4 separate regions of the Homo sapiens genome follow, and all the other regions are linked to region 4. Evidence: promoter capture Hi-C in 16 types of primary human blood cells and fetal thymus (Javierre and others, 2016). All regions are on one chromosome and are shown on one strand. Each heading gives the region's core, a stretch centred on a gene start or on the middle of the fragment in contact. The rest is flanking DNA. Distances are from core to core; before and after follow the strand shown. Region 1 overlaps PRKACB (protein kinase cAMP-activated catalytic subunit beta). Region 2 overlaps PRKACB (protein kinase cAMP-activated catalytic subunit beta). Region 3 overlaps DNASE2B (deoxyribonuclease 2 beta). Region 4 holds the start of SAMD13 (sterile alpha motif domain containing 13).

Region 1 (3,479 bases), core at 482-2,981, 120 kb after region 4:
TAAAAGCATTTGCTTTTTTTCTCCTTAATTCAAAAATTAGTTGTAAGTACTTTTATGGGAATATGACTATTTGCACAGGTCCAGTAAAAATCTGCTCTCTCTTTATAGCAGAATATGAAAACACTGATTATATTACTAAGGCTCTAACTGAACTATCGTATTTAAAAAGTGCATAAAATGCCTGACTTCAAGGGTTTCTCAGCATTACAATGAGTAAATAAAAACTGTTACTTCCTGGCAGGACCAGGAACCTCAAGACTGTAAGGAAAATCTAAGACTGCCTTGGTTCGGCTTCCTTGCCTCAAGAGGTTTTTAAATCCAAGATTCCTATGTAATCAATGTAGAGAAAAAAGTTTTTTCTAAAGAATAACTATAATATACCTGTTATTAGACTGTAAGTCTGTACATTATTTTTGAGTCTTGTTATCTACCTATAGACTAGACAAGGTCCTAAATTCTTCTAGGTTCCTCCAATCGAACTTTCTTCCATAAAATTACTAAAATGAGAACCGCTCTGTTCCTGAAGTCCTGTTAGCTGAAACTATATAAATTTTAAGAAACAAGTCTCATGCCTGATGTATGGGCCACACAGAAAGTTCATCAAACTGCCCAAAGCCATAGCCAGAGACATTTACACTGTAAACAAAGCCAAGAAAGTTGATGTTTTCCATGGTGTGAACAGCTTTTCTCAAAACACTAGAACAAGACTCCATATTGTAATGAAACTCTTACCCCTCTTAATGCCTGCTTTTTCACTTAACCAAATAATATTGTAATTTAAAATTCACAATCAGTAACTGCTATAGGTACTGGTGAGACCTGCTAAAGCCATTGACAAAGCCTGACTTAAGAAATTCTTTCAGTTCATCTAGTCACAACATCGACAATATCCTTAACACAATTTTTTGTTTAATTTGTGCTGGTGGTCCCTCTTGCAAAGTTTGGCATTCTCTGCTTTAGTTCAACCCAGTCATAAAATGTTAGTCAATGGCTATAGCAGGTCTCACCAGTTTCCCCTGGTCCTTTGATTTCTTTAGTTTTTTGCCCTTAGGCCTGGGCTTTAGTTCAAAAGCACTGCACAAATACATTTTACTATATTGTTAATTTTTTTGTACTATCATTTGTAAGCTTTGTTCTTAGTGCCTATCTAATCTTTGTAAAGGCAGCTGTCCCAACAGAATAACGTTAGCCCAACACTTAAAGATGACTGCTAATACCTATGGAAGTGATAAGTGGGAACTCGATGCTGGCTGGACTCCAGACAAAAATCTACTTTGAGAAAAATTTTCCTTCTGGCCTCCTCGTTACTTGAATGTGGCCCAGGTCCCTACATAGACACCCCCCAACAGATAACTTCTCTCATATGTGGGACAGAGACAACCAGAACAAGTCCATCCGAGCACCAAGGAATAATTAAGCCTAACTTCAAGATGGTTGACAAGCAATGCTTTCAGAGAAAGATCTTGATCAAAAGGGAAAAATGTGAAAGCTGATTATACAAATTAGTCATTCTCATCATACCTAACTAAATCAGAGTCGAGGGGCCAGGGAATAACGCACTCAGGGCACACAGCACCTGCTCCAAGAATTAAGGCCAGGTGTGGTAGCTCACACCTGTAATCCCAGCACTTTGGGAGGCCAAGGAGGGTGGATCACTTGAGATCAGGAGTTCGAGACCAGCCTGGCCAACACGGTGAAAACCTGTGTCTACCAAAAATAGAAAAATTAGCCGGATGTGGTGGCGGACACCTCTAGTCCCAGCTACTCGGGTGGCTGAGGCAAGAGAATCACTGGAACCCAGGAGGCAGAGGTTGCAGTAAGTCGAAATGGTGCCGCTGTACTCCAGCCTGGGCAACAGAGGGAGACTCAGTCTCAAAAAAAAAACCAAAAACAAACAAAAAAATTATATTTTCCACAAGTCTAGTTGCTGAAACTGCCTATTGTAACCTGAAACCAGTTTTCTCTAACAGCTACTGAGACAACCTACTGCGACTCTTAGACGAGTCTGACCCACCACCATCACTCACCAATCAGAGCTTGCCAGCTCCCCAAAACTTAACTAGTGCTAGTAAACTTTGTTTCAAAACAAATAAACATAAAATTTCTTTTTATAAAACCTCCAACCTTTTCTTTGTTTTCTAGACACATTGAAGACCACCTAGTCTGTGTATATGCCTCAAACTGCAATTCTTGCTTCCTCAATAAAATGTTGAATTTAGAGATTTGTCTCTACATTTTTATTTTGACTTCAACACACTATACTGAATGAAGCTGTACCTGTTTTTTATTTTAGCTTTATTCTATTAGTGATTATTAATGAACGGTAGAAGCTTATAAACTATTAAGTACAGGTAAAACCATCAGATTCTATAACCTATTTTAATAACTCTGAGATCTTATTAGTCATAACCTGATGAGGTACAAACTCCCGTTAAATTATGTGTATATTTTAAAAACTAAACTTAGCAAGAACTTTAAGGAGAATTAAATTTGTGAAAAACAAACTTTTATAATCTTATTACCATAATACTATTATTATTATTTCTCTATATATTTATTTTCCATCTTCATCCTTAAAACAATCCTCTGTCCTGGAGTTGTATTATTAATCTTTGTTTAATAAATATTGATATTTTAAAATTCAATTAATTTTTCCATTTTCTGAAAACTCTTCAAGTAGTGGACCCTCACAATATCTAGCAGTAGTATAACATTTAAATTGGCTTCAAAGTCCTTTTTTTATATTAAATTTTTATATTCTTTATATTAAAACTTGTGTATGATGTGGCCTCTTTGTTTCCACCTAATGCTTCATATGGCCAAAATATTAATCAAACAAAATAAGTTTTTGGCATTGGCATCAACTTAAAAATCTGGTTAAACAACACAAGCATATAAAGATTTGAAGAAAGCAAAACCATTAGTTACCTGAACCTTCCAATTCTTCTTAGATGTGAAAACATTTCACCCCCAGGGACATATTCCATAACCATGTATAAATTAGAATTATCCTATGAACAAATAAAAAGGAAATACAATTATTCAACTTAGGTCAAAATTATTTTAATATTATATAATGCTGAATTAGAAAAATTTAAAATCTCTCTGACAGATTAATAACCTTGAGAAATAAAGAATAAATGGAACATGCTCTAGCTTTTCTATACAGAGACACTCATATTTTTCCCCTCCTAGTTATTTTTGCCACAAACTAGTCTGGGACTTTTGCTCTTCCTTTTCTTGCAGAGAACATCTAGTTCTCAAACAATTAAATACTCAGGCAATGAAGTAACGTTATAATATATGCAAAAGAATAACAAAGGTAAAAAACAATTTAAAAAGTTAATAAGAATATTTACATTTTATGTATAAAAGATTAATGGTTTTAATATTTTAAATACATAGGTCTTCATTTAATTTAAAGAATAAAGGAGAAAAAAGATTAAAATGTTTCATATGATTCAATATTGCAGAGAGAT
Region 2 (3,466 bases), core at 390-2,889, 99 kb after region 4:
AAAAAATAAATTACCACATTAGAGACATTCAGGGTACCTTGTGAATAGTTAACAATGGAAATTGTAAGTTGATAGATGCCAAGGGTAAGCTTTCACACTAAATGTAGAGCTTGAATATGGCTGAGATACAAAGAAATAAAGACCTTCCCTCTACTATCTCCTTCCGGCTTATCTCTGCCTAAGAAGGTCACAAAATACAAAGCAAACAAATAAAAAATAAAACAAAAAAACCTCAACTCTATAACATCTCAGGCTAATGTGATAAAGATTGATGCTCTATTTCCTGATCATATTCTAAATGGGACTATGTGGGAAAGAAAAGAAAAGACAAAGCAGTACCACATGTAGAAATAGAAAGAAGGGAAAATAAGCAAAATATCCCTTCCCATATATTTTGTCATTAATGTATAGAAGGTCTCCTTCTGGGAATGTTTAAAAGCCTATTCTTTCATTGCTGCATGGTAGGAAATTCAAGCTCATTTCTATTGAATTGACAATGGTCTTTTAAAAAAAGATCCGAGGTCTGAGCTAAGGCAACAGCAAATGACTGACCCTAAACAAAACACTCTTGAAAGCAAATTAGAGGTTATAAGTGCAAAAGAAGGAAGGTTTATGAAGAAATTTACAAAATGTAAAATACTACAACACAGTAAGTCTACTCATGTTGAAGAAAAATTAATGTTATTTCCATGTTTGCTAAAAACCAATGACAAGTATAATCACAATCTATATGAACAATTCTGTTAAAATCAATTCTATAAATTTCCATCTGAAAAAGGCTTATTCATTTTATATTTACTTTTACTTCCAATGTTATAGTATTGGACATAATTAAAACAAGAAGTCTCTCCTGAAAATGGAAGGGCATATAAAACAGCCCCTAAAACTTTTCTCCATGAAGATAGACACATGAAATAATAAACTATTTTTATTTATTTGAAGGAATATCGAGAATTATGGCTATGATCCTGTTCTTTGTGATAAAAATACTAAATACAGAAATTGCTTTACTGTTTTGTTAATTTCTTTATAAAACTGCCCTTTTTTTCTTAAGAGACTGAAATGATTCAATTCTTATGATAGTAAGAGCAGCAACTGTAGATTTTTCTATATTTTTCCCAATGTAGAATAATAATTATGACACAATATAGTTTCAATTCATGAAGCTTAAAATTCATATACAGTAATAAGAGAGGAATAATAAAATGTTTTACTTACCTTTCCAGAAACAATCTTTTCATAAATCTGAATTGGTTGGTCTGCAAAGAATGGGGGATAGCCAGCTGCCATTTCATAGATTAGCACTCCTAATGCCCACCAATCCACTGCCTTATTGTAGCCCTGAGATAAACCAACACCAATGTCAATTGTTACTTAAGTTACTCAAAAGAGAATGAAGTCAAAGATAATTTCAAAATGATCTGGAAGCATATAAAAATTTTTTTAAAGCAATTGCTGAGCAGCTATTCAGGACAGAATTTAAAAATGAACCAAATGTATCAGGTCAGATTTAAATTAAACAAAGGAGAGGATTTCCAGATACTGAAATTGGATATTAGGAAAGAGTATTAAATCTTCTTCCTAAAATTATTAAGAATATTATAGACAATGAAATTTTCTTTATTTCACTGGTATAATTTAGTTCTTGCTCAATAACAGGAAGGCAGTTAGACCACATTACTTCTTAAGGCCCACTCTAGGTCCATAATCTTATGAAACAGATTTTCCACAGCATGCCTAGAAAGATCAAAAGTTTTCAAAGAAAATAATAGAAACTGGACTACATAGTAAATAATGAAGTTGACTTCAAAATACTCTATATTTTTGGAGTTAGGAGGGTGAATGTGCTAGGGATAATCCCATCTGCTTCATAGGATTTTGTGAAAGCAAAAAGTTTAATGTAAAATTCAATTCATGTAAATATTTAGGTATACTTTACTTCTGCTATCTACTGTCTTGCTTCCTATATCTAAAAGATATGCAGGAAAAAAATGAATTCACAGAGTTTTGTGAGGACTGTATCAAATGAAAGGGAGTAACGTGTGTAAAAAGTGCTTTGCAAACCAAATGTAAAAATCACAGGTTATGTTTGTTTTTTTCATATTAAGCTTACTAAAATTAAAATTTGTAAGTATTCATAAGAAAATAAATAAGAATAACATCTTCATATTAACATGCTAATATAGTTTATTAACTATGGTCAGTATCAACTGACACAAGAGATTTTTTAACAACCCCAAAAACCTGTCATGAAGAGAAATAAGCTGAATTCTACCCAGATCTATTGCTCTGCCCTCAGAGGTACCCTCTACCATCACGACTCACCACATTCCACCCTTTTGTCAAAATTTTAGCTTTACAAACTACTTAGTTTTCAAAATTCTAGCAAAAATATAATACTTTAGCGCTATAGAGATTTTCTTTTTCTCTTTTTTTTCCTGATACTGTGTATATCTTTTTAAGGGAAGGAGTGGTATAACAGGAATAGCACTTTGTTTTTTAATAGAAATAGGCATTAACTCTCTTTAACTTTTTGATTCATATGTTTAAATTGTGTGCTAATGTTTATAGTAAATATGTCAGACACAAGTTAATACCCAAGGTATAGAAATCAAAACACATCAATAAGAAAAATGTTAAATTACAATAGATAAATGGGCCAAGGAAATGAACTAATAATTTACAGACACATAAAGAAATACCAAATGGCTATTAACCATTTGAAAAATAAATAAAAAACATGAGAATTAAAACAATGAGATACAATTTATTGCCTATGAAATCAGTAAATATTTTAAAAATGAGTATACCCAGTGATAGTGTTATGAAATAGGCACTATAATACACTAATGGTAGAAGTGTAAAATGGCATAATAACTTTGGAAAGCAATTTGGCAATATGTATCAAAAGCCTTAAAAATGTTCCTATTCCTTGACCCAGTAATTCTACTTCTGGGAATATATGCTAAGGAAATAATGTAAAATAAGGAAAAAACTTTTATGTATAAGGATGTTTATCATAGTTATTTATAATAATAAAAAAATCAAAAATAAAACCTGAACACTCAACGATAGAAGAGTGGCTACATATTTTATGGTACATTTACAAACAAGCCATTAGAATGATGTTTGCATGCTTGTTATTATAAAAGTGAAAAAAGTCAGAGACAAGACTATATATATTTACTATGATTTCAACTATGACAACCCAGAAATAAGTCCATACACCTACGACCACCCGATCTTTGACAAAGCTGACAAAACCAAGCAATGGGGAAAAGTTTCCCTACTCAATAAATGGTGCTGGGATAACTGGCTAGCCACATGCAAAAGACTGAAGATAGATCCCTTCCTTATACCATATACAAAAATCAACTCAAAATGGATTAAAGACCTAAATGCAAAACCCCGGAGTATAAAAACCTTGAAAGACAACCTAGGCAATGCCACCCTGGACATAAGAATG
Region 3 (3,100 bases), core at 101-2,600, 110 kb before region 4:
TATTTACCATTGGATCAAGTTTTGGCCCTCTTTACTTTTAAAGTCAGGATCTTGTACTTTAAAATTTTTCTCTTATATTATTTGGATTACTTATGCTTTTTTGGCCTCAGATGCTCTCTCAGAGGCCAAATAATTTTTTTCAGGCCTCTTTATATTTGCAAGAATGTTAGTTAGCTAGATAGCATACAACATAGTTTATGCTTGCTCCTGACAGGAAAACCAAGTTAGTTTTTTCTCTGTTTGTCATTGAACTAGTGCCATGAATTTTGGTTGGTATTGAGATATTAAGATCGATAGCCTCAGAGGTAAGATGGACCTCTATGATACTAGGCAAGTTCCTAAAACTCTGTAGGCCTCAATTTCCTTGTCAGTAAAATGGGGATAATAACAGTTCCTACTACATAGAATTGTTATGAAGATTAAATAAAAATGTAATTAATCGGCCGGGCGCGGTGGCTCACGCCTGTAATCCCAGCACTTTGGGAGGCCGAGGCGGGTGGATCGTGAGGTCAGGAGATTGAGACGATCCTGGCTAACACAGTGAAACCCCGTCTCTACTAAAAATACAAAAAATTAGCCAGGCGTGGTGGCAGGCACCTGTATTCCCAGCTACTCGGGAGGCTGAGGCAGGAGAATGGCGTGAACCCTGGAGGCAGAGCTTGCAGTGAGCCGAGATCGCATCACCGCACTCCAGCCTGGGCAACAGAGCGAGACTCTGTCTCAAAAAAAAAAAAAAAAAAAATTGTAATGAATCCTGAATTACTATGAGTTGAATACTTATTACATAGTAAGTGTTCAGTAAGCGCTAGCTTTATTATTGTTGTGATTACTTTTTCTAGGTTGTAAGCTGCTTGAAATTGTGAACAACACATATGTCAAATATTATTAAGCAATTAGTACTTAACACAAGTTTATTATTATCCATTTATATAACAGTTACAAGTAGTGATAAGAATGCCAGAAAAAGAAACACATTGAAATTAAGATTATTGCATTTGGCTGGGTGCAGTGGCTCATTCCTGTAATCCCAGCACTTTGGGAAGCCAACGTGGGAGGATTGCTTGAGCCCAGTTCAAGACCAGCCTGGGCAACAAAGCAAGACCTCATCTCTATTATTAAAAAAAAAAAAGACTATTGCATTTGATTCTGGTTTCATTATGTTACACTTCTTTATTTCCTTCAAGTTGATGAGTCACACTTATGCAGTTTTTTTTCTCCTAATGTGACTTTAACATTCTTCTTGTAAAATATCACTCATTTCTGAAACTTATTTGTTTTTTTTTTTGCTGGAATTCAAACTCAAATGCCACCATTATTTTTAAGTGTCATCTATGTGCCGGGCTCTGTGCTAGGTACTTGAACATACCTAGCTATTATCTCCCTTTCATAGATTAAAAAAAACAAGGTTCAGAGAATCCAAGTGAATGGCTCAAGATCATCCAATTAGTAAGTAGTAGCTGAAAGAATGACAAATAAGTCTTAACCATAAACCAGTGAGAAAGAACTTTAGGAGCAATATGATCAAATAGTATGGAAGAATACGCAGAGAGAGTTATTTGCTTTTCTTCAAAAAAGGGTGGGGAAGAGAGTCAGGGAAGTCTTTGTGAAGGAGAGGAAATGTAATCTACTAGGTGGCCAGTCAATCCATAAACAATTGGAGTTGACTAATGTGGAAAAATATTTTTCTTTTTATTTCTTCTATTCTCAGTTGTGTATAATGGTTTATGTCTATGATATATAGTGCAAAGTAAATAAATTACCATTAAATAGAAGATTAAATGGTAAACATGAGAGAAAAATGTTTTATTTTGTGATATGCAGGTTATAAGTATATTCACAGGCCTTTAAAATATAAAGAAGGTGTAATGGAAGAAGACCCATTGTCAAGGTTTTCAATGATAGTACCTGTGTCCTTTCACCAAGTTTACTTACAGCTTTCATAGTATAATACTAATCCTTGAAATGCTTGGTAAATTTGCCAATTCTGGGTACAAATGAATCCTCCACTTCTGAAGGCTTGGTGTGGACTCCGATTTAGGTCTCCAATACATGTCCAGCGATTTTTGGTGCCCTTTTGGGAAATACACCACTTGGCATGATCTTGATAAGAACTGAAATAAGAGTGTCGTGATAATTTAATTGCTTTTATATTGTAGACATGGTAAGGAAGGGAGCAGTTTGAAGGAAGCTCTTGTCTTTTTCGCTGCCAGGTTTCTGTTAACAAGTGTGTCTTCAGCCGTTGAGCCATCCAGGCTGCAAAGATGTCTAGGGTTTAGGAGGAGAAAGATAGTGAGGTTGGTATTTACACTTAGATTAGTCCCTGAAAATATACTCTGGAATGGAAATCATCTTTCACCCCTGATATGTGGATGTCACGAGCACAATAATAACAACATAATTGAGATAGTGGATGAGAAAACATTTTGTAAATGCTAAAGTGATGTGCAAATGTAAGTTATTATCATCATTACTATGATGATGTTGGTGTTTGCAAACATCTTCTGTTCTATAAAACGAATGAAGCAATATATGTCTTTGTCCTGGAAAGACCTTTGGAAAAAATTAGTCTAGAGAAGGAATTAGGGCCAGTTTCTAGGGAACTTTGTAAATCATGCCAAAGTGTTTGGATTTTCCTGAAATCAGTGGAGAGTTTTTAAAGGAATGTTAGTAAAGAATTAATAGAAACTGGTTTATGATCATAAATATCAGTTGAGAGGCAATGGGCAGGATGAATTGGGAAGGACAGGTTAGAAAGAAGAAAGGAAAAACATAAGGCTGTCATAATAACTGTGTCAATAAACACAGGTGTGACCCATGGCAGTGGCAAAGAGTTTGGAGAAGATACAATACATGTGAGTGTTATTAAGGATCTGGAACTGACTGAATTTGATGGTTTGATAGAAGGGTCAGAAAAAGAAGAGATGGGGAGTGACTGGGTAACTATGCAGAATACAAGAAAAAGTAGATTTGTAGGGGATGATGACGCAGTGAGTTTGGCATGTTGAACTTGATGTGGCTGTACCACCTTCAAGTAGAAATGTCTCACTTGCTGTTAAATACATCAGTCAGTATAGAGGTCTGGGGTAGAGATCAAGACTTG
Region 4 (3,114 bases), core at 288-2,787:
CAGATAGCATGGGAAGGCTGCAGGGTTCCTTTACTTCAGCAACTAATCAATAAGGGAGAAAAGCTTGTGTTTAATTCTTAGAAAGTGAGAGAAGAATATATATTCTGAATCGGAAACATAATGGTCCCTTTTACAGCTTCACACCAGTTCACGTATGTTTGTTTAAATCTCCAGTTCCCTCGGCGATTGGAGAGATGTGATTAAACCTAAAGAACTGGAGGAGACGGATTGGGGTGCTTTCATCTGTACTGGCACTCCCTGCCTTGACAATAAGCATTTGCAAATGAAATTGAATCCTCGTTGAAAACAAGTGCTGTGTGAACTGGCACAGCTTCTTCTGGGTGCCTAGCTCTCACTTAAGACACTGCAACTCATAAATGAGTCAAAGTAGAGAAAAACAATCCCCCTTTTCCTGCCCCCCTCCCATTATGGGCTTTGATTTGTTTTTTCTTATTGTGTTTGGTTTTTTTTTTGTCCACTCCCCCTTGCTCCTAGATTTTTTCATTGCAATGCAGAAGGACACTTAAAGCTTTTGTCAGCAAGTATTCCCCTACCTCACATTCTCAACGAAAGCCTCAAAAACCCGTCTGTGAGATGGCCATGCTGTGGTAAAGCAGGAAGCTCACAAAAAATGCCAGATAGCCCTTAGCACAGAAAGGTGGTGCTGGTGTGTGTGTGTGTGTGTGTGTGTGTGTGTGTGTGTATGTGTAAGAAAGAGTAGGTAACTCATTAGATTTATGAAAAATCATCAAAACATTTAAGGAGATATTGTAGCATCCATCACTCTGTCTTTTTGTTTAGTAGGATGAGGGCTGTGGAAAATTAAAAGCCTTCCACAATTAATATGCAATTAGCAAAATGAAAAAGCTACGAACAAAACTGCTTTAAGAAAAAAAAAAAAAAAAAAGGAAGAAACAGTCCCGAAACGTGTTTGCTCTTATTCAGCTGAAGCCATAAATTAAATACATTTCCACTCAAATCACTTTATACTTCGGCACTCCTTCTCTAGGGATTACTCTGACATGGCAAGTGCATCATTTAGTATATTCGCAAGATTTTATCACTGTTAGAGAAGTAGATGATTAACAAATAACACTGTAAGTGTGGGATAATTTTCACTCCTGAAACACACACATACACACAAACTTCCAGCTGCAAACCACTTAGATCATTGATAGAGAAATCCAACATTTAATATATATATATAGATATTAGCATACATTCACACACCGTTAGAGAGTAGACAGGAAGATAGTGCTGCTGCTCCATGCTAACAGAATATGATTTCACTTCAGTTGGAAACTGTTACACATTCACCATTTTCTAAGCATCTCAGAAAACAAAACAAAACACTCACAATGATACTCTGCAACACCACACTACATTGTCTTATTATTATTACTATTATTTTCTTTTCTGTGGAAGAGTAAAAAGAAAACCTACCTATAAGCAACTAAAAAATATCATTTTTTATAGGCTTATCAAGAACAGCCAAAGAAACCCCAATGTTTTCTTTCACAAAGTAGGCTGGCAAAGGAATTCAATAAGGAGGTACAATTTGACACAGTGAAATAAAACCAGGCTGGCTCTCAGCCAACATGACGTTAGGAATCACACACAAGCTGCACCAACTGCCTTCTGGTTCATGGCTGACTTTTTAAAGCTACAGTGTGCCTGTTCACTTTTGCTAACTACCTTCAGCACAATTAGTGCAAGAAATGAGTAAGGAGTCCAAAACCTGCAGAATTCTCCCTGCACCTGTCTTGTACAAAGAAAAACAAGCTGTCTCAATAGCTTCTTATTTTCTCCCTCCCCTTCATTGTTGCTGCATGATAGGTCTTAGCTGTTGTTCTGAGCATGAATGTCATGTTTCAAACTATTTCCTTTTCTCCCCAGAGGGAAAAATAAGAGTGAGAAGCCAGTGCTTATGGGCTATAACCAGAGAACACTCGGAAGCTGCAGTCCCATGTTACTCTTTTTTTCCTAATAGAGATTCATGGACAAAGTTCCCAGGGCTGGCTTTTAAGTAATCTCTTTGTGAGAATAAGGAAAGCACTGCCCAGCAGCAAATCCTTTTACTTCATTATGCAGGAAGTAACATATTTCGGAAAGGATGCAAAATAGATGACCAGATCTCCTGAAAACGCCCACATTCTTTTATTTTGGCATTTATCCTGCCAAATGAAGCCAGCAAAAATTCAAACTGAAACAAACAAAACCTTATTCTACAAAACGAAAACAATTAGTTCTGGGAGGTTTAATTTTAACTGTTTATCCCAGTTGGACAAAAAGCATAATTCAAGAAATTTAACCAACACTTACAATCTATGAGTACCCGGTACTATATTAGTTACATATGAATAGAAAGACATTATGCCCACCCCAAAATTCATAGTCTCTCCCGCCATCATCCTAAATACCAAATCAGAAAACTGGGAGGTGGAGCAGAGAGGCTGGGCAAGATCTTTTGTTTAAGTTACCCTGGTCATTCTCACAGTTCCCTTGCTTGGCTTAAACCACTTTTCCAGGAGAATAATCTCATCCCATTAATGTTCTGCACATACACAGAAAACATACATGGTTGCCTCTTCATTGAAATAAACATCAATCAACATTTGGACACTTTTAGGTCAAGATGGTCAACAAAACCACTCAAGACAGGGCACAGAACACAGGTTCCCCAGAAAGATCCTGGAAAAAGTTATCACTTGCTGTAATATCCTGTAGAATTCAGGTAGAATCTGAGGAAAAAGCTGCCTGCTTCCCTTTTTAAAAATAATCTTTTAGGACATTAGGAGATTACCTTTGATCTAAATTTGGAACCTGAATTTCAAGGTCAAAAAATTTGTTCTTTACTTATTCCAGGAATTATATTAGAAATTTTTGACTTCCTTGAAGATCAGTGCCAAGAAAGATTTCAAATATTTGCCATTGCTCCCTTGAAAAGGCAAACAATAGTAATCTAGGAACCAATTAAATATTTTTGAGCAGTATTTTTTGAGCATGGGTCAGGCATGTGGATCTTTCACCAGTGCTGATCTCAAAATGATGGACTTTTATGTAGATAAAGAGCTCTTTCACTAACAGATTCCTTAACGCTTTTGGACTTGATCT

Evidence for each region. The method cuts DNA at HindIII sites, captures the fragments that hold promoters and counts their contacts. A CHiCAGO score of 5 or more calls a contact.
Region 1: a fragment that was not itself captured here is called in contact with the fragment with the promoter of SAMD13 in region 4 in 2 of 17 cell types (erythroblasts and megakaryocytes); the score reaches 5.6 in erythroblasts.
Region 2: a fragment that was not itself captured here is called in contact with the fragment with the promoter of SAMD13 in region 4 in 2 of 17 cell types (megakaryocytes and M2 macrophages); the score reaches 6.4 in megakaryocytes.
Region 3: a contact is called between a fragment that was not itself captured here and the fragment with the promoter of SAMD13 in region 4, in 4 of 17 cell types (M2 macrophages, M0 macrophages, M1 macrophages and 1 more). The highest score is 11.4, in M2 macrophages.

Annotation. Positions count from the first base shown.
Region 1 is chr1:84,184,632-84,188,110 of GRCh38, reverse strand. It overlaps PRKACB (protein kinase cAMP-activated catalytic subunit beta), which reads right to left. Exons shown (of 10, transcript NM_182948.4): 5 at 2,929-3,011. Among named protein-coding and RNA genes, the nearest start is that of PRKACB, 42 kb to the right of the region's middle. The HindIII fragment of the contact is 1,202 bases long and covers 1,131-2,332 here.
Region 2 is chr1:84,200,558-84,204,023 of GRCh38, reverse strand. It overlaps PRKACB (protein kinase cAMP-activated catalytic subunit beta), which reads right to left. Exons shown (of 10, transcript NM_182948.4): 8 at 1,219-1,341. Among named protein-coding and RNA genes, the nearest start is that of PRKACB, 58 kb to the right of the region's middle. The HindIII fragment of the contact is 942 bases long and covers 1,169-2,110 here.
Region 3 is chr1:84,413,693-84,416,792 of GRCh38, reverse strand. DNASE2B (deoxyribonuclease 2 beta) reads right to left here. Exons shown (of 6, transcript NM_021233.3): 6 at 1,775-2,265. The coding sequence ends at 1,925. Among named protein-coding and RNA genes, the nearest start is that of DNASE2B, 17 kb to the right of the region's middle. The HindIII fragment of the contact is 7,103 bases long and covers 1-3,100 here.
Region 4 is chr1:84,300,131-84,303,244 of GRCh38, reverse strand. It overlaps SAMD13 (sterile alpha motif domain containing 13), which reads right to left and starts at 1,537. Exons shown (of 4, transcript NM_001134663.2): 1 at 1,444-1,537; 2 at 1-42. The coding sequence starts at 10. The HindIII fragment of the contact is 6,789 bases long and covers 532-3,114 here.